Regions from separate parts of the Homo sapiens genome. Here region 1 is linked to region 2. Evidence: promoter capture Hi-C in 16 types of primary human blood cells and fetal thymus (Javierre and others, 2016). All regions are on one chromosome and are shown on one strand. Each heading gives the region's core, a stretch centred on a gene start or on the middle of the fragment in contact. The rest is flanking DNA. Distances are from core to core; before and after follow the strand shown. Region 1 has its middle 5.0 kb from the start of LINC01065. Region 2 holds the start of CNMD (chondromodulin).

What was found. Contacts are between HindIII fragments. The CHiCAGO score rates a contact against its expected background, and 5 or more counts as called.
Region 1: a fragment that was not itself captured here is called in contact with the fragment with the promoter of CNMD in region 2 in 1 of 17 cell types (megakaryocytes); the score reaches 6.2 in megakaryocytes.

Annotation. Positions count from the first base shown.
Region 1 is chr13:53,153,497-53,160,323 of GRCh38, reverse strand. No RefSeq gene overlaps it. Among named protein-coding and RNA genes, the nearest start is that of LINC01065, 5.0 kb to the right of the region's middle. The HindIII fragment of the contact is 1,802 bases long and covers 1,803-3,604 here.
Region 2 is chr13:52,734,797-52,741,782 of GRCh38, reverse strand. CNMD (chondromodulin) reads left to right here and starts at 1,963. Exons shown (of 7, transcript NM_007015.3): 1 at 1,963-2,153; 2 at 2,612-2,752. The coding sequence starts at 2,082. RefSeq lists an enhancer at 3,892-4,393. The HindIII fragment of the contact is 4,345 bases long and covers 1-3,584 here.

The DNA.
Region 1 (6,827 bases), core at 1,454-3,953, 420 kb before region 2:
GAGACCGAGGCGGGCAGATCACGAGGTCAAGAGATCAAGACCATCCTGGTCAACATGGTGAAACCTAGTCTCTACTAAAAATACAAAAAATTAGCTGGGCATGGTGGTGCACACCTGTACTCCCAGCTGCTGGGGAGGCTGACACAGGAGAATCGCTTGAACCCAGGAGGCGGAAGTTGCAGTGAGCTGAGATCCTGCCTCTGCACCCCCACCTGGGTGGCAGAGCGAGACTCTGTCTCAAAAAAAAAATAAAAAATAAAAAATAAAATACCCAATGCGGGTAAAGAGCTGAAAACCCTGCCAGAGGGTCATACCCCCTGTCTTGTGAACAAGAGGTGGGGTCAGAAATCTTTTTCTTCAGATCTTAAATACACAGAAGAGATAACATAGATTTATTTCAAGTAAATATGAAAAGCAAATGCTGGTCACAAAGTTACTTACACTTGCTGTCAAAGTTCTGGTGGCCACAAAGTACAGATTTTACTATGTGGCTAATTAGGTTCCTTCGGATCCTTGAGGAGCCATAAGATGTTTTCTTAAGTAAGGGTGTAAAGCCAGACCTACATTGCAAACCTCTTTGGCCTGAAAATAAATTGGAGAAATTTAATTGCACAGCCACTGGTTCTATCCACTCTTGAAAGCATGCCTACTCCAGCACAAGGGCCTGGTCACATGGAGAATCCCAGGAGGAGAGACAGAAGCCACATGGAGTTGCCATGGCAACTTAAGGAGGCCTGAAAGGCCAGTTTACCCCTACATATCTTCCTCACATGCCTAGTCATAGTTTTAGACATTCTTTAGGTTCACATGTTTCATCTCTAGAAAGAAAAGTATCTGTCTAAATGTTACCATTTTATCAGAGAAAGCAATGATGCCCCAATATCACATTACTGGGAAAAAAAGAAAAAAAAAAAGCTTGGGAAAATTTAGTCAAGACCAAGGCCCTGGGGAAATCAAAGAAGAAGGTAGAGATATATATGTATTTGTGTAAAGAAAAGCAGGAAAACTATGGATAGATTCTGAGGCCCGTTCTGGAAGAAATCAAGCAAAGGACAAAGGCTTCCTAAGAAAAACATAAAAACAGTAGACCTCAGTGACTAGATTTCCAAAAGTGGAGAAATTTTTGCCAACAAGTGAAGTGAGGTAAGCCAAAGACAAGTTTTGTTTACTTTGAAATTTTCCCTTGGGTTATCCAATAACCAAAATAGGTCTTCTGGTTAATATATTTTTTAGGATAAATGACAAGTAAGTTTCTCACTAGACAGTAAGTATCATGCAAGAAAAAAATGTATTTACTTCTGCACCCTAAAGCTAAATACTATGTACCTGGATAAAAGGAAGGAAGGAAGGAAGGAAGGAAGGAAGGAAGGAAGGAAGGAAGGAAGGTGGGAGGGAGGGAGGGGAGAAAGAGAGAAGAGAGAGAGGGAGGGACAGAGGGAGGGAGGGAGGAAAAGGAAGGAAGGGAGGGAGGGAGGGAGGAAGGAAGGAGGAAGGAAGAAGGGAAGGAGAAAGGAAAGAAGAAGAAGGAAGGGCAGGGAGGAAGGAAGGGAAAGAAAGACAGGCAATTGTTTGCAATCTTTCTAAGAAAACTGAATCTTAGGCAATTGAGAAATTTTAATAACTGCAATTATGACTTTACAGTGCTGAAAATGATGATCCAGAAGATATAGGGGACCAAATTAAATGTGTACTTATTCCCCTAAGGATATAATTTAAAAGAGATTTTTGTTTGAGTTTTTGTATTAGTGAAGAATGGAAGGGCAGTGATAAAATAGCTATCAGACACTGGAGAAAAGAAAGCTTGAATCATGTACTGGCAGAACAATTGGTAAAACAGTCCCTGAAGTAAACTGGAAGTTAGAAATTGATACCCAAAGTGGAGTACTCCTACAACAAAAAGCTAAGACATGTGGGATTTGGAATTGTGCAATAGGTGGAGACCTGATAAATCTCAAGAAGACACTTAATGTTAGTTAAAAGAGCGGAGAGGAAATTGCTTTCTGGAAGCTGGAGAAAAGAAAACCCAAGTTATGGATGTGTAGATTCATTAGCAAAACTATCACCAACAGTAATGTGCAAAATAGAAAAGATACCTAATTAACTTGTGGATCCAGCTATGAAGATATCCACACGGGATGTTTAAAGTAGCACCTTGCATCTTTTAGTTGCCTAAGTTAAGTTATGGGAAGTGTAAGATGAACTAAAGAATTAGCTATTCTGTTTTCAAGCAGAATTTGAAGAAAATGCAAAGGCTTTGGGGTTCAAAAATAAATTCTCATCCCCAGTGTTCCTTGGAAAAATATTCTCAAAGTAAAATCTGCCTCATATCAAATCCAGAACAATACCAATAAAATAGGGACTCAAAGTAAAGATGAAATCAAGGATACTGCTTGTGAGATCTCAGAAAAGATTTAGGGCTCTGACCCATAAATTCCCTTGGATAGAAAAAGGGGCTTCTAGGAATCCTCACAAATTGCCTCAAACTCTCTCACCAAAAAAAAAGAAAGAAAAGAGAAGAAATAAAGATCTTCTAAAAATAGTAAAGGTATTATCCCATAGCACCCTGACTTGCAGGCAAAATTAGGAAGGGATCAGTTTTAAAGAGCTTTGTGGGTATAACTTTTGTCTAATGAAGTTAACCCCTAATAAGATACCTAAGAAACCCACAAAGTTTTAAAGAGAATTGTACTAGCACAAACATTGCCAGATTGAACTAAAAGAGACAGAAGCATTTCAAAATAAAAAGAAGCCTTTGTGCTCTCAACCTTCTATGAGCAAGATGAAGACTGAAAGCCACTCAGTTGTAAGCATGAGCCATGGAGAATCACTTCCAGATATCAGAACTAGGCCCTAAGATCTGAAAATATGTACCCAGCTAGATTGCAGGTTGCTTAAGATTGGTGACTGCTATATTTTTCACATTTCCCCCTTTTTGAATGGACCTTTTATTGCCATTTTTCAGTCCTTGCTTCACCATTATATGTTGATGGTTATGGGCATGAGGGAGAATATAACTTATCTCTTCATCTCTTCAGTTCACTGGTATTCAAATCAAAAGTGATTATACCTAAGAAGCCTCATCTTTCACCTGGGCCTGATTTAGATGATGAGATTGTAGACTTCAAGTCCAAATCTCATGCTGTAACAGAATGAGATTATGGGGGTCTCAGCAAAAGCAGAGGGTATTGCAGGAGGAATGAGAATTATTAGAGGCCAGATTGTTGACAGTGATAAACAGATATTTTGGTAGCTCTCAATGAACCATTTCTCTTATCATGCCCTTGTGTAGTTCTCTGCCAGGTTGACTCTAGGGTTGGCCATGTGACTACCCTTAGTCTATGGGACATTAGTAAGTGTGATGCAAGCAAAGGATTGATAGGGCCCTGAGCGTATTTTCCTGGAATGCTCCGTCTTGAAACCCAGCTGCAATACTGTGAGGAACCCCAAGCTAGCCATTTGGAGTAGACACATGGAGATAGAGATGCTCAGATAGTCTCCATAATTTAGACATTCAACTCAGTCAATAGTCATGTGAATAAAAAAGACATTCTGGACATTCCAGCCCAACAGATATGGAGCACAGATGAGGTTTTCCCACCAAGCTTTACCCAAATCACAGAATTCTGAGCAAATATACAATTACTGTTGTTTTAAACCACTAAGTTTTGGGGTGGTTTATTCTACAGCAATAGATAACTGAAATAGAGTGTGTGTTTCCATTTTTAAGATTTTTTTCTTTTCTTAAATATTTTGTGTGAATTTATTTTCCCATGACTAATTTTCTAATAGAAGACTAAGATTTTTAGAACATACTGGCACTGAAATCACAAGAAAGTTATTTTGTGCCATATTATCCTGTTCTACTTTCTTTATGGCATTTATAATTGTATGCAAATATCTCATTTATTTGGCCACTCCTTTTTTCAATCCTTGTTCAACACAGGAATGTATCCTCTAGTGTGTCTTTTTCACTGTTGGATCCCAGCATCTACAATACTGCCTGGTACATAGTTAAGGGCTCAGTAAATACTGTACACAACAGTAATATAGGATACTTTTTTTTTAGGGAAAAAGAAAAGGTCCCTGAGATTGACATTTCACATTTCTGGCTTGCTTAATGCTAAGATGAAATTGTCCAGGGTACTTTGCTTCCACATGGAGGACTAACAGTTTAAGGAACTGCCTGGACTTCTACAAGATTTTTGCCTCAGCAAAAAATAAACTTTTTTGTATTAAATCACTGAGAATTTGGAGTAATTTGATCCTGCAGTACAACCTAACTTATCCTGACCAATATAGTGCTTAACAGTGAGTTTATATACTTTTTGAACTCTGGCCTATAAAGTCTGGACAGCCATTTATGGATTCAATGATAATTTATTGAATACCGATCATGTTCAAGGTACTGTACTAGGTCAAGAAATAGAAACAAAGATGGATTAGATACTGCTTTAAAGAAGTTTATAGTTTGATAAGAGAAATAAATTATGCACATAATAAACTGCAGTACAAGGTAGAAAATTATGAGTGTCATAGATAGGTACAAGTAAAGTGCTATAGGAATTTATCTGAGATGGATATGAAAAGGTGCCTTAGCTCAGACCCTTATAGGTATGACAATTTATGAAAGTGAGAAGAACGACGTCCTGTTTATATATGCCATAGTGCGAAAAGTCTAGCTGTTAGGCTTTCTTTTTCCCCACATTTTCATTTCTCCGTGCACCCTCACTCTAGGCTGTTATGGGTCAAATTGTGTTCCCCACAAATTTACATGTTGAAGTCCTAAACCCAAGTACTTCAGAATGTGACCTTATTTAGAGAAAGAGTCTTACAAAGGTAATTAAGTTGAAATGAGATTATTAGAGTTTGCCTTAATCTGACATGACTGGTGTCCTGATAAAAGGGGAAATCCAGAGGCAGACATACACACAGAAAAAACAGCAAGTGAACATCAACGCAGAGATCAAGGTGATGTGTCTACAAGCCAAGAAACAGCAAAGATTACCAGCAAACCACCAGAAGTTAGGGGAGAGTCATGGAACAGATTCTTCCTCACGTCTTAAGAAAAAAACAACCCTGCCAACACCTTGATCTTGGACTGCTGGCCTCCAGAACTGTGAGACAATAAATTTCTGTTGTTGAAGCCACCTCGTTTGTGGTACTTTGTTACAGAAACATTAGCAAACCAATACAAGCCTTAAAAAGATGTATAAGACAGGGAAAGGAATAAGAGCCTGTGACTAGCCAGCTCTATCTTCCAGCTGCCCATTATCTAGTTCTCTTTCCTCTTCCAGACAACAAACAGGTTCATTAGAAAATGGTGGAAAGTAACCAAAAATTTCTGACTATTGTCACCTGAGGTGGAAGAAAGAAAGAAAGAAACAACCTGGGAGAGGGGGTGGTCATTAGTTGGTTTTTCAGAACATTTGATTAGACTCCTGGAAAGAGGGCAGAGAGGAATTGTGTGTGTGTGTTGGGGGCGGGGGGTCGTGGAGGTTATTCTCCCTGTTTGCCTTCTTTCCTTCTTTGGTGAATGTCTTTTAAACATGATTTTGATTTTTTTTTCCCACGAGATCCAGTATAACCGAAATTTGAAATTTTAAAATGCTTTAAAAACTTTCAATGTTTGTGTTTGAAATTTTCTTGAGTTTATGTGGGTGTGTATAGAATGATTTGCTTCATATTAGTGCAATGAGTTTCTAACTCATTGACTTTCTGAGCCTTGCACACACCAACACAGAGCATTCCCTTTGGATATATTTTTCACTTTTGGTCTCTCATGTTCTTTTCTGTGTATCAGATGTGAAATGAAGTAATGGCACTAGCTTTTAATATGGTTTTCACAAGTGGTTTTGAAAGCAATTCCAGATGACAAGAACCAAAATATTTGGAGTGATGACAGATCTCTGATAATGTAGACTCTATAGTCTCCCCGGTAACCACTTTAAAATGCAAATATTTTTAGTTTATCTAAGTTCTGTTATTTTTAAATCTCACTAGTTTGTAGTCCTAGCTAAGATTCTTTGGGGTTTTTTCTGTTGTTGTTGGATTTTTTTTGTTTGTTTTGAGACAGGGTCTCGCTTCATCACCAAGGTTGGAGTGCAGTGATGAGATCACAGCTCACCGCAGCCTCGATTTCCCAGGGGCTCAGGTGATCCTCCCACCACAGCCTCCCCAGTACCTGGGACTACAGATGCATGCCACCATGCCTGGCCCCAGATAAGATTCTAAATATACATTTTGCTTCTTCTTAAGGCAAGCCAGCCATTGCCAACATAGAGCAACAAAATGCACATTGCTTTGCTAGGGACCTTACAGAGTAGATAAATGACACAATGTCTTCCCTCTAGGGAGGATAAAAAGAATAATGAAAGATGTGTTTTTTCCATAAATGCATATATTAACATTTGACTTCACAAAAAGTGCTCATGTAAAGAACAATACTTTCCCTTGAAGTTAAGCAATTTTATGATGGATCTAACAGTACAGGGAAAAAGGTCTTGGGGCTAATAATAATAATTAGCACTTATGTTGGTACTTTCTGTGTTCAAAGCATTTTGTGGAAGATTAACTCGTTATTCTTCCCAGCGTTCTTGTCAAGTTTATAAAGCTTTAGACTGTTCTGATGTCCTCTCCAGTACAATTCCATATAATATGGGAACATTCATTTGATTTTTACATATAAATACTACTGGAGTTCTGATTATCCCACACTGTGTCTGATACCCAGTAAACTCACAAACTTTGGTGGAAAGAATGGATGGTACTTCCTGGATCCTTATTTCAAAGATCCATTCAAAATTCAAGAGTCTGACCAAAGAATGGAT
Region 2 (6,986 bases), core at 714-3,213:
CTTGAACCTGGGAGGTGGAGGTTGCAGTGAGCCAAAATCGCACCACTGCACTCCAGCCTGGGCGATAGAGCAAGACTCTGTCTCAAAAAAAAAAAAAAAAAAAAAAAAAAAAAGGCAAAATAATGCTGTTGTTCATTCTTCTTACATTTAAGAGAAATTTCTACTTCTTGCTTCACCAACTCTCTGTTTCCATTCTTTGCCATTTTTTCTACTACATTTTTGGTCTTTTGGTTTTCCTAGGAAAACACTATATAAGAAAACTAGTTCCTTGTCTGTGGTATAAGTTGCAAATATTTTTAATCACTCTGTAACCCTTTGCAATGTGTCTTCTGTGCCCAGGGAAGCAAATGGAACTACTCTCTCGCTGGTTCCCATGGCCTCTTGGTTGTGCCCTTCCAAGGCCTTTCTCTGTGCTCATTTTTTTTCAGCATTTGACACTGCTGACCCACCCTTCTTGAATGTGCCTTTAAAATTACATGTACTACTTTATATTGTACCATCTCCCACCTCTCTGACAGTTACTTCTCTTATTCCTTCACCAAAATTCCTGTGAAGAATGCCCTTGTGAAAAGAGGTCTTTGAACTCTGCCTCAGCAGTGCCCCAGGGATGAGCCCTGGCTGGAGATCTTGCTGGAGTTTTTTCCAAGCACCTTAAGTCTAGTGTGATGTGCAGACAGCTGTTTCCATAGCTGATTCCAATGCAGGCTCAGGACATTTCCTTGGCTCTTTTACTTTTCATCCCCACATCAAGCTCAACATGTCTAAAACTGTTTCTTCCAATTTTTTCACTTCCCTAGGGTTCCTATCACTCTCCCAATCCTCCTAGGTCTGAAAACTCAGTTCCCACAGCCCAGGAATTGCCAAGTCCTATCGATTCTTCTGTGAAAGTGGTCTCCTCCACTTCTCCCCTCCTTCCCAGCCCCAGGTCATCATGCTTGTCACCTCATTCTTCATCACATGTCTTGGATGATTCTTCAACACTTTCTCCTTCTGCAGTCCTGCACATGCAATCTCCCGCTGCCCTTTGGGGAAGCCTCAATCCCTCTCATGCACTAGTGCTCCTCACTTACACCTCACCAGAGAGCTCTGCACAAAGCTAGAATCGAACGCAATTTAAGGAAGCCTGGATCCAAATGAAGTACCATGTATCCTGGAACTGGAAGATGGCATTTCCAAAAGTGAAAATTTTATATACATACATACATACACACACACACACACACACACACACACATTTGTGTTATTCCTTTGGATACATCAGTACTCTGTGTGTGTGTGTGTGTGTGTGTGTGTGCTTTGCCATTGTTGCTTTTGTTTGCACTTATTTAATTTATTCAACCAACCAGCATGCACTTTTATTCTGGTCTCCCCAACTCCTTCCCTCCAGCCCTGCTCTGCTTAGCTCTCACTTTTGCTGCAGTTGTACCCAGACCCTAGAAAAACTGGTGGCAAGGAGCCATCCCTAAGACCCTGCTCTGTTTTCCAGTCCCAGGGGCCATCCAGCAATGCCAGGCCAGTGAGAAGGTGGCCTAACCCTTACACTCTTAGGCCAGTGTCCCCTGTCCACCTGCACCACTCTGTTGTCTTCTCCTTCACCTTCCATGAGCCATCTTCCCCCCACCCCCACCCCAACACACACCTACAAAGACCCTGCAGGAAATGGCCTCCAGCCAGTTGTCACAGCAGAGCCCGCTGACATTCTAAGACATCCTCCGGTGCATGGCTAATTGCTCTGGCACTTGAGTATTTCTTTGGGTCCCAGGATTCAGCATCCCGCTCTGAGGGATGCAACCACCCCCACACATTCAGAGTCACCGGGATGCTGTTTGGGGGGCCAGTAGACAGGATAGAGTGAGGAGGAAAGGGGGCATCCGGGAGTGCAGGACGAGCTTCCCGCGGCGGGAGAGAGAAGGGAGGAGAGAGGTGAGGCGCTGGAAGGGGTGGGGACCGCTGGGCTGGCCCAGGCGGGACCGTGCACCGTGTGTGCGCGCGGCGTTGAAATGCCCTGCACGTCGGGGCAGCGGGACAGATCCCAGGGTGCCCAGGGAGTCTCCAAGTGCCTCACTCCTCCCGCCGCAAACATGACAGAGAACTCCGACAAAGTTCCCATTGCCCTGGTGGGACCTGATGACGTGGAATTCTGCAGCCCCCCGGTGAGTACCGCCAGGGATTCCACACGCAGGGCCTGGGTTGTGTGAGTATCAGGTTCCACAGTTCGGACTCAGGGGTGCGTGCCACCGAATGGGTGTGTTGGCGGGGGGATAAATTTGGGTCCCAAATGTGTGGGTGGGATGTCGCCCCACGCGTATGAGTGTGCAGGGGTCACGGCATCCACAGGCGGGTGCGGAGGGACGTCCCGTGGCCGGTAGAGGGTGCAGGTCCTGGGGCGAAGGCCCTGTGCTGCGGGGTTTGCTCATCCCACTTCCACGCCCGACTGCAAAGGACCCTCGGGAGGGAGCGCGGCGAAAGGGGCACCCGTAGGAGCCCGGGCGAGCTGTTTCCCGCCCGACTCCCCACTCCCTGGGGGCTACCGCGTGGGGCCCGGGTGCGCTGGGGGCCGCAGGTGCTGGCGGCACAAACGCGACGGTCCCTCTCCCGCCCCGGCCCGCAGGCGTACGCTACGCTGACGGTGAAGCCCTCCAGCCCCGCGCGGCTGCTCAAGGTGGGAGCCGTGGTCCTCATTTCGGGAGCTGTGCTGCTGCTCTTTGGGGCCATCGGGGCCTTCTACTTCTGGAAGGGGAGCGACAGTCACGTAAGTCCAGAGGGCGGCGCGCGGGGACCCCCGTGTCGCCCATGGTGCCCCTAGGGGGAGCCCGAGCGCGGGCCGGCGAGGGGCGCGCGGCTGCCGGCGGGCCCCTCGGGCCCAGCGTGAGCTCCCCTCTCCCATCCCACTCTGGCACGCGGCTTTCCGCCTTAGGTCAACGTTGTAGAAAAGCAAGTGAAGGTTTCACGGGAGAAGATTGAAGCGTAGAGTAGGGGAGAATGTAGTGGACGGTCCGAGAAAGGCCGTTCTCGGCTCATCTCCCACTAAGCAGTGGCGCGACCGTGGGGAAGGCACGTCACCTTTTGGCCTCAGTGTACTCGTCCTGAAGGGAAAAAATGGAACTGGACGATCTCTAAGGCCTGTCCCTGCTAAGAAAGGCTGTGGGTTTAAAATCCAGGACAAAGATAGTGGAGGAATATTCAGACCCATATTCAGACCCATTGGGAAGGAATTTTTGCCTTTCAGAAGGTTTTTTTGTGACCTAGCCATGAACATTCCCTTCTCTCTCTGGAAAACAAAAACAAAAAACAAACAAACAAACAAAACGTCTAACTTCCTTAAAGGTGGAAAATCTCTTTAACAATTAATTCTGGCCTAGTCATCACATGTGGTTTAATAGTAGGTGTTTTACTAACTGCTGTCCTACTTTCTTTGTATGCAACTATTTATTTTAAAGCTCCACGGCTCTCGAGGAGTATAAAGACTGTTTCTAAGTTGACTGGGCAGAGCTCCAGTGTGTTCTCTAAATACTCTGAAAGTGTTCACCTATGTAAAAGGGGGCATTTTATCTTGATGACCACTGCCAGGTCTGGTATAAGCTTATTTCAACTAATGGAAAAGAATTCCATCTCCAGGGCACACACAAAGGGCTCTTTCATAATCACTATCCTCAGAGGATTGGTGATTGCTGTTTTTTCCTCTCTCCTACCATGAAATGCAAAGCATGAACGAATTCCAGTACTTACAGAAAATGGTGCTGAAAGCAATTCAACCATTTTACACATCACGTCTTCTGCAGTCACTGCATAATTTGTATTTTTAACTCAAATGTCTAATGTAGATAAGCATGCCATTTAGCACCGAGTCTGTTTTAGAGACTATATCAAATTTACAAGCATCGATTTGTAAGATCAGAATTGCACTGTATTTTGTGGGTATTTGAAAAGTGCCTTAATGTATTTGTATTTTAAATATAGAAGCTGGGCCAGATGCTCATGTTTGAAACAGCAAATGTGAATAAGAGAATGATTTCAATATCTACATCTCCATTAATAGCAGGGTTTAGATTGTCATCTCTTTGGGAAATTCTGTGGTTTTAGAATGTAAATGCTATCTTTTAAATAACAAAGCCTCAATGGTATAGGTCAATGGGGGATAACAATAGCTATGCTTTTTTTTGGTAAAGATTCTGGACATGATATATTTTAAAATGAATACCATTTGTCATTTAATTATTCAAGGTAAACATCACTAACTGACAGGCTTCTAAAAAGAGAGATTAAACAATCATACTGAATAAGCACAGCTCCCTTTTTTCATATATTTTACTTTACTGCAAGATGGTTGGTTGTCTGGTTCAGGAGAGCAGTATTAAATGCTAAGAATTCAGAGGAATAGTGAATCACATTTTATTGTCAACAATCAAAATTATTGCTATATCCTATACAGACAGGAGAATGAAGAAAATCATGATAGTTTTTTTCTCCCTGATCCATATGACTTAAGTATGAAAAACAAATCACAAAATACTAAATAGAGTAATTTTTGCACCACCTAGGCATAGCACATGCACAGGTCTGCTTTGCCTGAATACAAATCTAAATAGCTCAGACAAAACGTAATCAAAAAAGGTAAGTCTTTGTCAAACAGAAAGACTTGTCAAACCAAATGGATTATCCACTCTTTGGGGATTATCTGTGCCTCGGCTCCTCTATATTGGTTTATAGAGGAGAACCAGCTGTAATTCACCTCCTATCCTTTTCATGTGGGTAAATCCCCTTAGGACAGGTTTACTGAAATTTAGCTGGAGGACTATGAAGCACTGGAGTAATAATAATCAGGGGACAACTGAACTGGGCTCCAATATTGAGGCCATTTTTCATCCACATTATTGTAAATGGAACAAGGCATTGAAATATGGGAAATTTCCACCAATATGAGATAACTGACAACCCCACCCTGTGAGATGAGGGAAGGAGATCATTGCTTGGGGCCTTTCCTCTCAGACTAATTTTTCTAGACATTTTCCCAAACATTATGTAATTAATCTTATAGAACATAGGCCTTATTAAAAACTCATTAGCAAATATCCTTGGCTGTAAAAGGCACCATATTGAGCAGAATTTTGGCAAATAATAAATTTCATCTTGTTTGGATAAAAATAGCCTTGGGTGTCCACAGCTCCACGGACTTAGAGCAGATAAGGTAATTGCTGCTCCAACAGCCCAGCCTCGTCCCCAGCTCAGAGTCTAGTATGTTAGAAACTGGACTGCCTCCTCCCCCCACATCCTCCCCTAGTAGCTTCAGGAGGGGGACAGCTTCACTGCTGTCCCCATGCAGATGGTGCAGTGCACATAAAAGGTGGGCTGCAGGCCAGGCGTGGTGGCTCACGTCTGTAATCCCAGCACTTTGGGAGGCCAAGGCAGGAGGATCACTTGAGGTCAGGAGTTCAAGACCAGCCTGGCCAGCATGGTGAAATCCCATCTCTACTAAAAATGCAAATAAAGGCCGGGCGCGGTGGCTCACGCCTGTAATCCCAGCACTTCGGGAGGCCGAGGCGGGCGGCTCACGAGGTCAGGAGATGGAGACCATCCTGGCTAACACAGTGAAACCCTGTCTCTACTAAAAATACAAAAAAATTAGCTGGGCCTGGTGGCGGGCACCTGCAGTCCCAGCTACCTGGGAGGCTGAGGCAGGAGAATGGTGTGAACCCAGGAGGCGGAGCTTGCAGTGAGTGGAGATTGTGCCACTGCACTCCAGCCTGGGCGACAGAGCAAGACTCCGTCTCAAAAAAAAAAAAAAATTAGCTGGGCGTGGTGGCGCATGCCTGTAGTCCCAGCTCCCTGGGAGGCTGAGGCAGGAGAATGGCTTGAACCTGGGAGGCGGAGGTTGCAGTGAGTCGAGATTGTGCCACTGCACCCCAGCTTGGGTGACAGAGCAAGACTCCATCTCAAAAAAAAAAAAAAAAAAAAGGTGGGCCGCAGCTGCACAACCAAGATGCCCTACGTCAAGCTTGTCCAATCTGTGGTCCTGCATGCGGCCCAGGGCGGTTTTGAATACAACCCAACACAAATTCGTAAACTTTCTTAAAACATTATGAGATTTTTTTTTTTTTTTAGATTTTTTTTAAAAATTCATCAGCTATCGTTAGTGTTAGTGTATTTTATGTGTGGTCCAAGACAATTCTTCTTCCATTGTGGCCCAGGGAAGCCAAAAGATTGGCTATCCCTGCACCTAGTTAGGGAGGCTTTCTGGGGAGAAGACAGCCAGGGGTAGTGGTGGAGGAATGTGAAATTCAAACCACAGGCCACTCTTCTAGTGTGACAACCTTATCTCCTTAAGAACTGCTAAGAATTTAGAAATGGTTATGTTCTTAAATGTTGCATTGCTTTACTAGTAAAAGCTTATGTGCAATGTTCTTAAAAAAAAACACAGAACCTCTTGTCATATGAGTGGAAGACACTCACATGGGTGTTTCCTGCCAGGCTCCTTCTGACAGTCATCACTGACCCATATGAACACTGGCTGCTCAGAGAGCACCGGACAGAACAGAGCCTTCTTTCCAAACTTCACCTGCAGGAGTCCCGTCTCAGCCAAAGAAAACAGGTTTCCCAAACCTGGCTGATCATAAGGGCCACCTGAGGGGAAAGGGGAAAAGAGACTGGTGGGCTGTGCTCTAGCTCCACTAAATCAGAACCCCCAGGAGTGGTTCTTGTGATCAGGGAAGCCTAGGAGACAGTAAATTGCAGACATCTAAGTTCTTCAGAAAGAGACAGGGAAGGAGGGGCAATGAGGGATGGTTGAGCTGAAAAAGGACACTGGTATTTTCTGTCCTGCTGAATGAATGCTGTTCCTAAAAGGGTGCTGGATAGCAAAGCCATTTCTGTATCTCTGCTGATAATAAAATAGTGCACTGTGGGTCTTGTAATAATGAGTTTTCTTCAAGAAATGGATCCAACAATAACAGATCCTTTTTCCAGTGTTTGTGCATGTAGCAGTCACT